Linked DNA regions of Homo sapiens: all the other regions are linked to region 1. Evidence: promoter capture Hi-C in human tissues and cell types (Jung and others, 2019). All regions are on one chromosome and are shown on one strand. The core of a region is centred on a gene start or on the middle of the fragment in contact, and the rest is flanking DNA. Distances in the headings are between cores, read along the strand shown. Region 1 holds the start of POMC (proopiomelanocortin). Region 2 has its middle 23 kb from the start of NCOA1. Region 3 overlaps LOC105374329 (a long non-coding RNA gene).

What was found. The method cuts DNA at HindIII sites, captures the fragments that hold promoters and counts their contacts. A contact is called where the count stands out against the background at its distance.
Region 2: a fragment that was not itself captured here is called in contact with the fragment with the promoter of POMC in region 1 in 1 of the 25 tissues and cell types used here (pancreas).
Region 3: a fragment that was not itself captured here is called in contact with the fragment with the promoter of POMC in region 1 in 2 of the 25 tissues and cell types used here (aorta and lymphoblastoid cells).

Annotation. Positions count from the first base shown.
Region 1 is chr2:25,166,160-25,170,188 of GRCh38, forward strand. POMC (proopiomelanocortin) reads right to left here and starts at 2,421. Exons shown (of 3, transcript NM_000939.4): 1 at 2,339-2,421. RefSeq lists a promoter at 2,295-3,107, cis regulatory regions at 2,446-2,458, 2,524-2,697, 2,698-2,723 and an enhancer at 2,518-2,537. The HindIII fragment of the contact is 18,073 bases long and covers 1-4,029 here.
Region 2 is chr2:24,466,014-24,469,889 of GRCh38, forward strand. No RefSeq gene overlaps it. Among named protein-coding and RNA genes, the nearest start is that of NCOA1, 23 kb to the right of the region's middle. The HindIII fragment of the contact is 6,412 bases long and covers 1-3,876 here.
Region 3 is chr2:24,425,063-24,428,944 of GRCh38, forward strand. All of the region lies in intron 2 of LOC105374329 (a long non-coding RNA gene), which reads left to right. Among named protein-coding and RNA genes, the nearest start is that of NCOA1, 64 kb to the right of the region's middle. The HindIII fragment of the contact is 4,125 bases long and covers 1-3,811 here.

The DNA of each region.
Region 1 (4,029 bases), core at 1,171-3,670:
CTGGGCCTGCACGGTGCTAGCTTCTGAAGGGTTGCCGGGCAAGGCTGAGCATTTTCAGAGCAGCCATTAGATGGCACTGGCAGCCAGTGACTGGCCCAGGTGCGCTTCGGCTAAAGGGGCAACTGAACGAGCTTTGGTCAACCTTGGTGTCCTCTCCTGGCTCCAAGGGACAGGCTGTTCCCATTGTACCCTGCCAGTGATCTATTCAAGTACACAGCCAGAACTTGGTGGACCAGGCAATTAGATTAAAGCTCCAAGTTGACCATAGCACATTTAGCTCTGAAAAATGCCCAGATGTTACAGTCACAGAAAAATGGTAGTTACGTATGTCACCAAATGCAAATGTAAAGTAACATATTAGTAAAGGAAAAAACAAAATCTTACAGGTCTGATAGTTCCCTCAATTATATTTCAATTCTTGTCAAAGATAACTACTCTGGAGTGATTTCCATTTGCTAGAAGCAATGACTTCAGGCCTTCCTGGAAAGCCCCAGAGAGCATTTCCCCTCCTTATGCCCTATGTGCTGTGTTGTACAATGTGGTAACATATTCACTCCCACCCTCTCAGAGCTTATATTCTGTTGCTAAACTGGTTAGATGGCTGCTATTGCTAAAACTTCAGATTCTTCCCTGAAAGATGGTCTTGTGTTTGTATTGTATATTTTGCTTATGTGTATGTGTATTTGCTTATGTGTATTTTCAGTTCTCTACAATGAACAAATAGTACCTTTTGTGTCATTTTTAAAGCAACAAATTATTGGGGAAATATCAAATGTTGTGCTTTTTTAAGTAGGGAAAGTATTATAATCCAAAAATGGAAAGCTCTGGAAAAATAGAAACTTGAAATTTGCTCATCCTGAGATTAACTTTATAGTAGAACTACACTTATTAGAACTTCATAGGTGTGAGGGGCTCTCTATGAGCTCAACAAATCATTTTGCTTGTTACTGTAAAACTGCACGCTGGCCATGACCTTTTGTAAAGATTAGAGGAGCACAGGGGCCGAGTTTTGTCCTTACACCATGACATACATGCATCGAGTCCTATAACAAAAGCATCAAAGGAACAGTAAGTCATTAAAGTGGCCATAATCTGTGCAGAGTTTATAAACTGACACACACACAAAAAAAATCCACACACACTTTTATTTTCCTTGGCTCCTTCCAGCCATTCTGTAAGAACCCTCCCTGCCCCATTTAAACATGAAGAATTTGGGGAATCCAAATGCCAAGTGGACTGTCTCTCCTTCGCTGGAAACGCCCCTTACCTGAGCCTTGATCATTCCAAATGGCTGCCCGTGCCCTCAACCCAGGATCTGCGCCATAAACCGTCCACCCCGGTTCTGTTGAGGGCATCCGAAACTAGACAGTGCGTTTCAGGATCTAGGACAGCTCCCGCCCCGGCCACCTGTTTTTAACCCCAGCTAGGTCTTGGAGAGAAGAGACCCAACTATTCTGCATTGTAATTGACCCAGTTATCATGTAATTATCATAGCGCGGCCACCTCGGGTGCGCTAAGGTGGGCAAGGAAACAAGGATTCAGGGGTCTGAATCCGAAAAAATCCGGAAGGCAGGGCGTTCATTATGACTTTTATCCTTTTCTCTGCTGCCCCGTTTCCAACATTAATTTGCGATAGCGTGTATGGAATTTGACTTTCAAGATGTGACACCTATCCTGGAAACTGGGAGCAAGAGATACTAAAAGACCGGGCTGGCCGGGGGCGGTGGCTCGCGCCTGTAATGCCAGAACTTTGGGGGGCCAAGGCGGGCGGATCACCTGTTGTCGGGAGTTTGAGACCAGCCTGACCAACATGGAGAAACTCCGTCTCTACTAAAAATACAAAAATTAGCCGGGCGTGGTGGCGCATGCCTGTAATCCCAGCTACTCGGGAGGCTGAAGCAGGAGAATCGCTTGAACCCGGGAGGCGAAGGTTGCGGTGAGCAGAGATCACCCCTTTGCTCTCCAGCATGGGCAACAAGAGCGAAACTCCGTCTCAAAAAAAAAAAAAAAGACCGGGTTGTCCCAAGACCTCCTAGCAAGCTCTCGGAGCCTCCGGACCGCCGCGAGCCCCTGGGGGAGAGGAGGCCGCCGGCTCCCTGGAGACAGCGCCTGCAGCTTCGCGGCCGTCCGCCCAGGGGCCGGACGTGGGCCCTCCAGCTCAGCTACTGGCGGCTTCTCATGCCGCAGTCGGCGCAGAAAGTTTGTCGAGAACTCGGGACCGCGGAGAGCCAGAGGCGCCCAGGTCCGCCTTCGGAGCCGGAGCCGGCCGACTGCATCGCGAGGACGGGGACAGGGGATCCCGGGGAAAGAGCACGGGTCCCCCACGCTGCGCCCTTACCTGTCTCGGGAGGCTGCTCTCTGAGGGCGGGGACGCTCGGCGGCCTCTCTCGGTCGCGGCTCTTCTTCCCCTCCTTCGCCGCCGCTTGGTCCCGCGCTCCTCTGTCCTTATATACTTGCCGAGCTCTCCTGGTGGGCGCGGGACTTTGACCTTCCCGGCAGCACAAGGAGCAGCTCCCCGGGCCAGGGGAAGGGGGGCCGCGGGGCGTGGGAGGGGGGCTTCCAGACGGGGGACGAGCGCGGGGAGACGCGCTGGAAAGGGGCTGGAATTAGCACTGTCCTGCCGAAGGCGCACCTGGCCGCTCGCCCTCAGGAAGAACTTAATTATGGATGGCGTTGGGTCTCCGCTTAGAACGGGCGGGAGGCTTAGCACCCCCGTGTGGGGCAGGCCGGGCAGCCTCTGAGGTCGTTGAGGCGAGGGTGAAGTTACCTGCGTGCGTGCTGGGGCTGGCATCTGCCTGGTTCGCATTTGGCGGTAAATATCACCGTCTGCACACGGGGAGGCCTCCGATTTCCCCATTGTTTGGAAACTGTGATGTGGAAGTCGTGGGGAATCATATTCTCTCTGTTCCACTTTGGGGAGGGGAGGAGGGAGCAGAAGTCAGGAGCCGTCTTGTGGGTGTGAAGGTGAGTTGCACTGCTCCCCTGGGGCCTGCTCTCCAAGGGCCTGGTTTAGGGGAGGCTCCCTTCCGTGTCCCAAGCCTCAAGGAAAAAGTCCTGTTAACCTAAACCATTAAATGGGGAGAGGGTGATGCTGTGAAGAGCAGCTGAAGTGCTTTCCCTGTGGCCTCTGATCCCTCCCTTTGCCATGAGCTGGCAGGGTGGTCTGGGGACTCAGACAATTTTCAACATCCCCCTTGGCCCTGGAGTTCTGGCTTGGCTTTAGTTCCAAATATCAGACCAGAGAGAAGAGTACAGCACTCAAACCAAGCTAAGAGACTCTACCTTAACCTGGAGTAAATAAACAAAACCAAATTGTGCGATGTGGTGGGTGTGGGAGGGAGTATTGGGACTAAACTGGACTTCAAATCAAGACACTTGCTTAATCTGCCAAATGCCAGAACTTTCCTGATTCCCCATGAGATGCTCTTTTGGACTCCAGGACTCTCTTGTGGATTCAGCTTTTCTGGTGACATTGGCTTTACATTCAGCAATCCTTTCCCTTTGGACCACAAGAGAGATCCAAGCTCCGTCACAGTAGACAAGGTGCTTCATCACCCGGCTTTGGCCCCTTTCCAGGGCCATTTCCCAGTTCTCCACCTTGCATCCTGGCACTTCAGCATCCACAACATTCACACTGCTAGAACATGGCTTTCTTGGGTCTCCATTGTCCAAGCTGTTCCCCCAACTAGAACATCCTTCCTCTCTCCAGCCATCCAGGAGCTTGACTCACATCAAGATGTAGCCCATCCATCAGCCCCTGTTCTCTGAAGCCCTCTTTGGCCACTTTTCCTACCAGGGGCATGAGGCATGACCTCCTCTGCCTTCCACAGAAGTCCATCCCCATCTTGTCAGTGCAAGTGGCTTGCACTAATTCACTTCTGTCCCCATTTTTTTAATCTTCCATCCACCCCACGACCACCATCAGGTTTGTAAACTCTTTCAAGCAGATGGTGGTTTTGCCTTATTTTACTTTGTGTTATTTTTGTAACTTCAGGAGGCTGCTGGTGGCAGCAGATAAAACAAACCAGG
Region 2 (3,876 bases), core at 1,007-3,506, 700 kb before region 1:
GGCTGAGGCAGAAGAATCGCTTGAACCCAGGAAGCCAAGGTTGCAGTGAGCTGAGATTGTGCCACTGCACTCCAGCCTGGATGACAGAGTGAGACTCCCTCTCAAAAAAAAAAAAAAGTTAGTCGGGTATGCTGTTGTGTACCTACAATTTCAGCTACTAGGGAGGCTGAGATGAGAGGATTACCTGAGCCTGGGAGGTCGAGGCTGCAATGACTATGAGCAAGCCACTGCACTCCAGCCTGAGTGACAGAGCAAGACTCTGTCTCAAAAAAGAAAAAAGTAAAACTGGACATATGCAGAAAATAAAATAATCTCAATAGAGAGGCCAGGGAGAGGGAAATGTTTTTCTAACTTTTTTGTTGTGAACCACAGTAAGAAATACATTTTACATCTTCACTCAGTACACATTGTGTGTGTGTGTGTGTGTGTGTGTGTGTGTGTGTGTGTAATTAAAACAACCAAAACATCTTTTTTAAAATAACAGTACATACTATTCTTTTTAAAAAATGCTGGTCATGACCATCCAAATTGATTTCATGACCTACAGTTTGAAAAACATTGCCCTGAGGTGATAGGTGATAGTGTCAGAATCTTGGGAGAGGGTAAGATTTTTAAGTTTATCAAAAAAGAAGCATTTTTCAAACAGTTGACCATGTCCTTAAGAGTGCAGACTTACTTTTCTTTTTATTTTCTTTAGGGCCTCTGCTATATTTCTTTCTTTTATTCCTGCTTACATGGACAATTGAGTGAGATTGCAAAACCAGGTTACTACAGCATGTGGAAATCTTAGATGATATACTACATGAAGTTGGTAAGTCGCAGGTACATGGTTCCATTGTTTTAACTTAAATTAATCTAACAACCTATTAAAAGCTTGTTTAATAAATAGTTTATCATGTGGTTTTTAGTTCTATCAGGTCAATTTTACCCCCCATTCTAAATGCAGGTCCAGTTCTTAGCTCACCTGGCTCACAGGGAAGCAAAGTCCTATTTTCCCTACATACTTGAGACTTCATCCTCCCATACAGGATCGGTCACATTCCACTCAGTCTCTTGAAATCCCAAGCAGTGATATTCTCTCGTCACCTCCACCCACCCGTGCATCAACATACCTTGCAACTGGCTTCTCTTGCTGGCCTTCTACTTAAACTGCTTTTAAAGTAAAGCCCTTTCTAAGAGTGACTTTCTAATCTTTTCTCCTAGATCCTGATCTCACAGCTCCTATATTCTGCTTCTTCCTACAGATCCATTTCCTGTCTATTGGCAGCTTCGTCTGCATTATCATTGTTTCTTGTCTCTTGAACTTTGGTTGGCAACTTGCAATCCTTTTGACTTCAGCCACCACTGCTTTGTTTTTTCCTCAGTCCTAAGTCCTGAGAGAGGGAAAGCAACTTGCTTAGCTCACATTTCGCACCAGATGGCCCCAGGCCGGGGGCCCCCTCTTTCTTCAGTCATTCATTTTTTGGTTACTTTTGGAGGGAGATGTGGTGTGGCATCTCCAGGGAACTTACTCAAGAAGAGGTAGTTGGGAGAGAAGGTAGAAAATGGGTTATCTCTAGCTGAACTTCAGGTTCAACGTCATCTTTATTTTGATCTACAGAGTCCTAGTAGATGACAATACAGGTCTATACACAAGTGATAAATTGTGCAATCAACCAATTCATCCATTTCACAAATGGGAGTGATTGTTTGCTTTATGAAGTGAACTCTTACTTTATATGAGGAACCATCATGGGATTCCTTCAAACAGCAAATTCTCTTTTCATATATACAAAATGATTTATTTTACAAAGGGTGATTACCTGTGGCTTTCTCTCAGGAAAAGGAAGTGAGGTGTCTTCCATCACAATCATATGCCTTACAGTTTTGATACAATACTCAGTCCAGTTCATTGATTTCCATTCTTAAGTACATAAAAATCTTTTTTCTCCCTGGTTTATTTATAGTTGCATCCCATGGACAAATATCCTTTACTCAACATCTCCTTTTACTTTCTTACATTTATCTTGGCTTTCTTTTCCTTTTTACTGTTTACTCCTACACCATTTCCCCTTCCCATTTTAGTCAAATTTGCTTTTGCTCTTTTTGTGCACTTCATAGGTGGACATCCAAGGACATTGATGAATGAAGCTCCAGTCAAGGGTCTGTAGTGTTAAGGCAGCCACATCCAGGCTCTCATAGCACAGAAATACCAGTAACGCTATTGCTCAGGTGTGCTGCGTATGCTTATTCTACTATGCAAGTGATTATATGCCTCAGTTCCACAGTTGACCTTATATCCCAAATCAGCTCAATAAATTAGAATACTTGGCCCCTTTTTTTTAACTTTTATTTTAGGTTCAGGGGACATGTGCAGGTTTGTTATATAGGTAAACTTGTGTTATGGGGGTTTGTTAAATAGATTATTTTGTCACCCAGGTACTAAGCCTAGTACACAATAGTTATTTTTTCTGATCCTCTCTCTTCCCACCCTCCACCCTCAAGTAGGCACAAGTGTCTGTTGTTTCCCTCTTTATGTCCATGTGTTCTCATCATTTAGCTCCCACTTCTGAGTAAGAACATCTGCTATTTGGTTTCCTGTTCCTGCATTAGTTTGCTAAGGACAATGGCTTCCAGCTCCATCCATGTTCCCACAAAGGACATGATCTTGTTCTTTTTTATGGCTGCATAGTATTCCATGGGACGTTCATACACTGTTAGTGAGAGTGTAGCTCAACTGTTGTGGAAAGCAGTGTGGCAATTCCTCAAAGAGCTAAAAGCAGAACTACCATTCAACCCAGCAATCCCATTACTGGGTATATACCCAAAGGAATACAAATTATTCTACCATAAAGACACATGCATGTGTATGTTCATTACAGCACTATTCACAATAGCAAAGACATGGAATCAACCTAAATGCCCATCAATGACAGATTAGACTTGGCCTCTTATGGAAACATATTTTGTTGTTGTTGTTGTTGTTGTATATAATGGCCCTGACTCATTAACTCCTTAAGTCATTCCCCACGTTAGCTAGTTTTCTGTTATCTTCACTTTGATGTTAAGCCAACATCTTAGCATATTTAAAATTGAATTTCTCATACTCTTAGTCACATTATATTCCCTTTCCAGCTTCCTTACTGATGATGATGATGATGAACATTACTGCCTTTCACTTGTCCAGCACATTGCAGCTTTCCTGCACATCATCTTATTTGTGCCTTACAAAACCACTATGTGGTGAGCAGAGACACTTTACAAATGAGAAGAGTGGGCTAAGAGGGGTTAAGTCACTTGTTCAAAGTGGTAGGGACAGGTCTTCTCACTCTCGGTCCTATGCCTTAAGCTCAGAGGCACTACCCTGCTTCTCAAGCTAATAACCTCATCATTCTTTCTGTTCCTTTTTCTCTTGCACGTCCCATGTCTAACTCATCAAAAACTTATCCTAATTTTTTCTTCTACAATGTCTCATACTTGCCATTATCAAAGCAGTTAAACAACTGCCTTCTTGGTTCAGGCCCTCATCTGCTCATTTGTGAGTCACTGCAAGCATCTCCTGTTTTCCACATTTCTGTTCTTTTCTGCTCTAATTCATCCAAAAGGCATTGGTTAGAATATTGTTTATTTTGCATATTTTCTCTCTTTCATATCTTCTTCCCTTTTTTTGGAATGAAGGGTCCACATAGCAGTTGTTGGGACAGCTAGTAATTACCTTAGTAATTCCCATGCCCCACTTGAATAGCAAATATCTGTGGATAATTGGAAAAATAATGTGTGAAGATGCTGCTCTCATGGTATCACTCCCTTGTGGCCCATATCAGTTTTCTATTTCCTGTTCTGGAAAATGCAATCCCTGCAGGCCCTATATCCAAGACTGTCTATTAACTGAATTTG
Region 3 (3,882 bases), core at 499-2,998, 740 kb before region 1:
CCAGGCTGGAGTGCAGTGGCGTGATCTTGGCTCACTGTCACCTCTGCCTCCCGGGTTCAAGCAATTCTTCTGCCTCAGCCTCCCGAATAGCTAGGATTACAGGCGCCTGCCACCTTGTCTGGCTAATTTTATGTATTTTTAGTAGAGACAGGTTTCCACTCTGTTGGCCAGGCTGGTCTCCAACTCCTGACCTCATGATCCACCCAACTTGGCCCCCCAAAGTGCTGGGATTACAGGTGTAATCATACAGACTCCCCAGTGGGTTCATCCTTTTCCCAAATCTGCACACCACGTTAATGCACTCTGTGGGGAGATTATTTTTAGTCATCAAATTCCTTAACATGTTGGTGATGAATTTTCTGCTACAGAATTTTTTCTTTTTTTTTTTTTTTGCATTTAAAAAAATCAAATCACAGCATGGCTTTCATCTGGGAACCACATGTCTAGGAAAGTAATTATTTCAAACCCAAGGGCACAACCAACTGTAGCTAAAATGGATTCAGTTTTTGGTTCTGTCATACCTGCTCAGAAAGCACTGTGCTCTCAACAAACTCACTGTGCTACATACACATTGGGCAGTGTCCACCAGCCTCAAAAATGTCTTCCTAAATGACTGATATTGGGGACCTGAAGTTTGAGGGAGTTTGTAGTCTCTGGAAATGGAGAACAGGAACCAGGTAAAGCTGTCGATTTTGCGGGATTCTGAAGTGATGGGATGCAGATGCAAGAACACAGAACTACAGGAGAATTTTACAAAATCTGCTATCTGTATTGTTGTTGACTGTGCTATGAAAGGAAATTAGATGGTAAGTTCCTTCATGGAAAGGAAGTAACTTATCCTTAGCACATACTTGCTTAGAACAGGTGATTTCATGATGAAAGGAAATAAAACCTTGACCTCGCAAAGAAAAAAACCTAGTGTCTCTTGTGTCTGCATTTCAATCAATCATCATGGAATGAGGGCAGAGAAGGATAATTATACTCCTTAAAGAGTAATTCAACTAAACTTGGTGTCTGTGTTTATGAACATCATGTAGGTAAGTGTCAGCTTCCTCAGAAAGGCATTTTCCCAATGGAAAAAGCTGTAGACTGAAGGGGAAGACTTGGATCTTGATTCTGAGACTTGTACATGTTTGACCTTGAATATGCCACCAAATGTCCCCAAGACTCAGTGTATTCTGTAGAAATCAATTGTGAAAATATAATGGGCACACGGACTAGTGCATTCATTCAGGACAGCAATCCAACCTTCCCCAGAGAAGCTGAGTGACAGGAGCCTTTTTGGCCCTGCAGCCCCCAAGAGAAGCTCACCTCAGGCCCAAAAGTTCACCTTTATGAGGATGTTCATTGCATGTAATCCCAGCACTCTGGGAGGCTGAGGTGGGTGAACCACTTGAGGCCAGGAGTTCGAGACCAGCCTGGCTAACATGATGAAACCCCGTCTCTACTAAAAATACAAAAATTAGCTGGGCGTCGTGGTGCACACCTGTAGTCCCAGCTACTTGGGAGGCTGAGGCAGGAGAATCACTTGAACCTGGGAGGCAGAGGTTGTAGTGAGCCGAGATTGTACCCACTGCACTCCAGCCTAGGCAACAGAGCAAGACTCCGTCTCCAAAAAAAAAGAAAAAAAAAAAAAGTGCGCATCAAGCTAGTATCCATCTCTAGGGAAATGAATAACTAAAATATGAAGGGTCCTTATCACAAAACACTCTGTAGCAATTAGAAGTGATGAATTAGATATACGGAGCAACATGGATGAACTACAATTCATAGTACGGTGTGAATAAATGAGAGATAGAACAATATCATGTTGGCTAGTTAAAATCACATTCATGGAACAACCCACGTATCTATCAAAGATAAATAACTCTCTCTGAGGACATATTCCAAACATACTAGAGAGGATGCCTATGGAAGTGAAGATTGAGGAAATGGCAATATAAAATACGAGAGGGGCCCCTTGTCCAGAACCAATGACAAGAATGTGGCAAGCAAACACCTCTGGCCTAACCAGAAGCACAGCAAAAACTGTCCTTCCTCACCCCCTCAGAGTGGGAATTGCTTCACCCCTTCTGCTTGCTATCACGGAGTTTCTTGTTTTTAAACTGTTCTCTGGGAGTCCCTGGCCATGGCTTTTCCTACACTCTGTTAAGTGATACCATCGATAAAACTTAGAGCTCATGTACAGTTTGCAAATATCCTTTTGTTCTTTAGATTTTCCTAGTCAAATTAAGTATTAGATGTGGATATGAAGTAATGAGTTTTTAAGCTTCTTCCAAATGAATGTTATTTCTTTCAAAGCAGTCATAGTTTCCAGCAGTTCTGCCAAAGCTTGAAACATTTTTGGAACTGTGTGTGTGTGTGTCTGTGTGTGTGCATGCACATTCACATTGTGTGTGCATGTGTGTGTGTGTACAATGTGCTTAAAGACCAATCAAACTTTATATTATTTTCTTTTTTTTGAGACAGTCTCTGTCACCCAGGCTGGAGTGCAGTGGCGCCATCTCGGCTCACTGTAAGCTCCGCCTCCCAGGTTCACACCATTCTCCTGTGTCAGCCTCCCAAGTAGCTGGAACTACAGGCACCCACCACCACGCCTGGCTAATTTTTTGTATTTTTAGTAGAGACGGGGTTTCACCGTGTTAGCCAGGATGGTCTTGATCTCCTGACTTTGTGGTCCGCCCGCCTTGGCCTCCCAAAGTGCTGGGATTACAGGCGTGAGCCACCACGCCCAGCCTCAAACTTTGTATTATTTTCAAATCTAGTCTTACATTACCTGATCACTGCCCACCTAGGCAATCTCATCTCATCCTCTTCTCCCCATTTTGCCCACAGTGTTCCAGGCACTCCTGGCTTCTTTTAGTTTCTCCAGTGTGCACAATGCATTCTTGCTGGGGGTAGCTGTTCCATTTGTCTGAGATGCTCATCCTTCTGGTCTTCCTTCTCAAGGTGGGCTCCTTTCTGTTGCACAGGTCTTACTTAAATGTCACATCCTTAGAGAAGCTTTCTCTGACCACCCAAACCAAAGAACCATCTAAGGACTTGCTATCTCACCATCCTGCTTTTAATTTTTCCACTGTCACCACTATCAGATATTTGCTTGTTTAATGACTGTACCCCCAATTTAAATAAAAGTCACATATTCTCACGGGGCTCAGTGGCTCACGCCTGTAATCCCAGCACTTTGGGAGGCCGAGGCATGCGGATGACTTGAGACGAGGAGTTGGAGACCAGCTTGCCAACTTGGTGAGACCCTGTCTCCACTAAAAGAACTACAAAATTATCTGGGCATGGTGGCACGCACCTGTAATCCCAGCTACTCAGGAGGCTGAGGCAGGAGAATCACTTGAGGTTGCAGTGAGCCGAGATCATGCCATTGCACTCCAACCTAGGCAACAGAATGAAACTCCGCCTCTTAAAAAAAAAAACACATATTCTCATGGCCAAGAAAGGTGCCTGCTACATGATAGGTGCTATGAGAATGTTTGTTGAGCACACTGGAGTATGAGGAACTCAGATCTCTGCCCCTGAGGTCCAAAAAATAAGCAACTTAAGTATAAGAGGTTATTGTAGATTTTCTCCTTTGTTAATTGGCTTATTCTTTTATTACATCACTTCATTGCTAACTTTGCGTCACATATCCCTATTTATTTATTTATTTATTTATTTATTTATTTATTTATTTATTTTTTGAGACAGAGTCTCACTCTGTCACCCAGGCTGGAGTACAGTGGCACGATCTTGGCCCACTGCAGCCTCCTCCTCCCGGGTTCAAGCGATTCTCCTGCCTCAGCCTCCCAAGTACAAGTGCGTGCTGCCATGCCCAGCTAATTTTTTGTATTTTTAGTAGAGACTGGCTTTCACCGTGTTAGCCAGGATGGT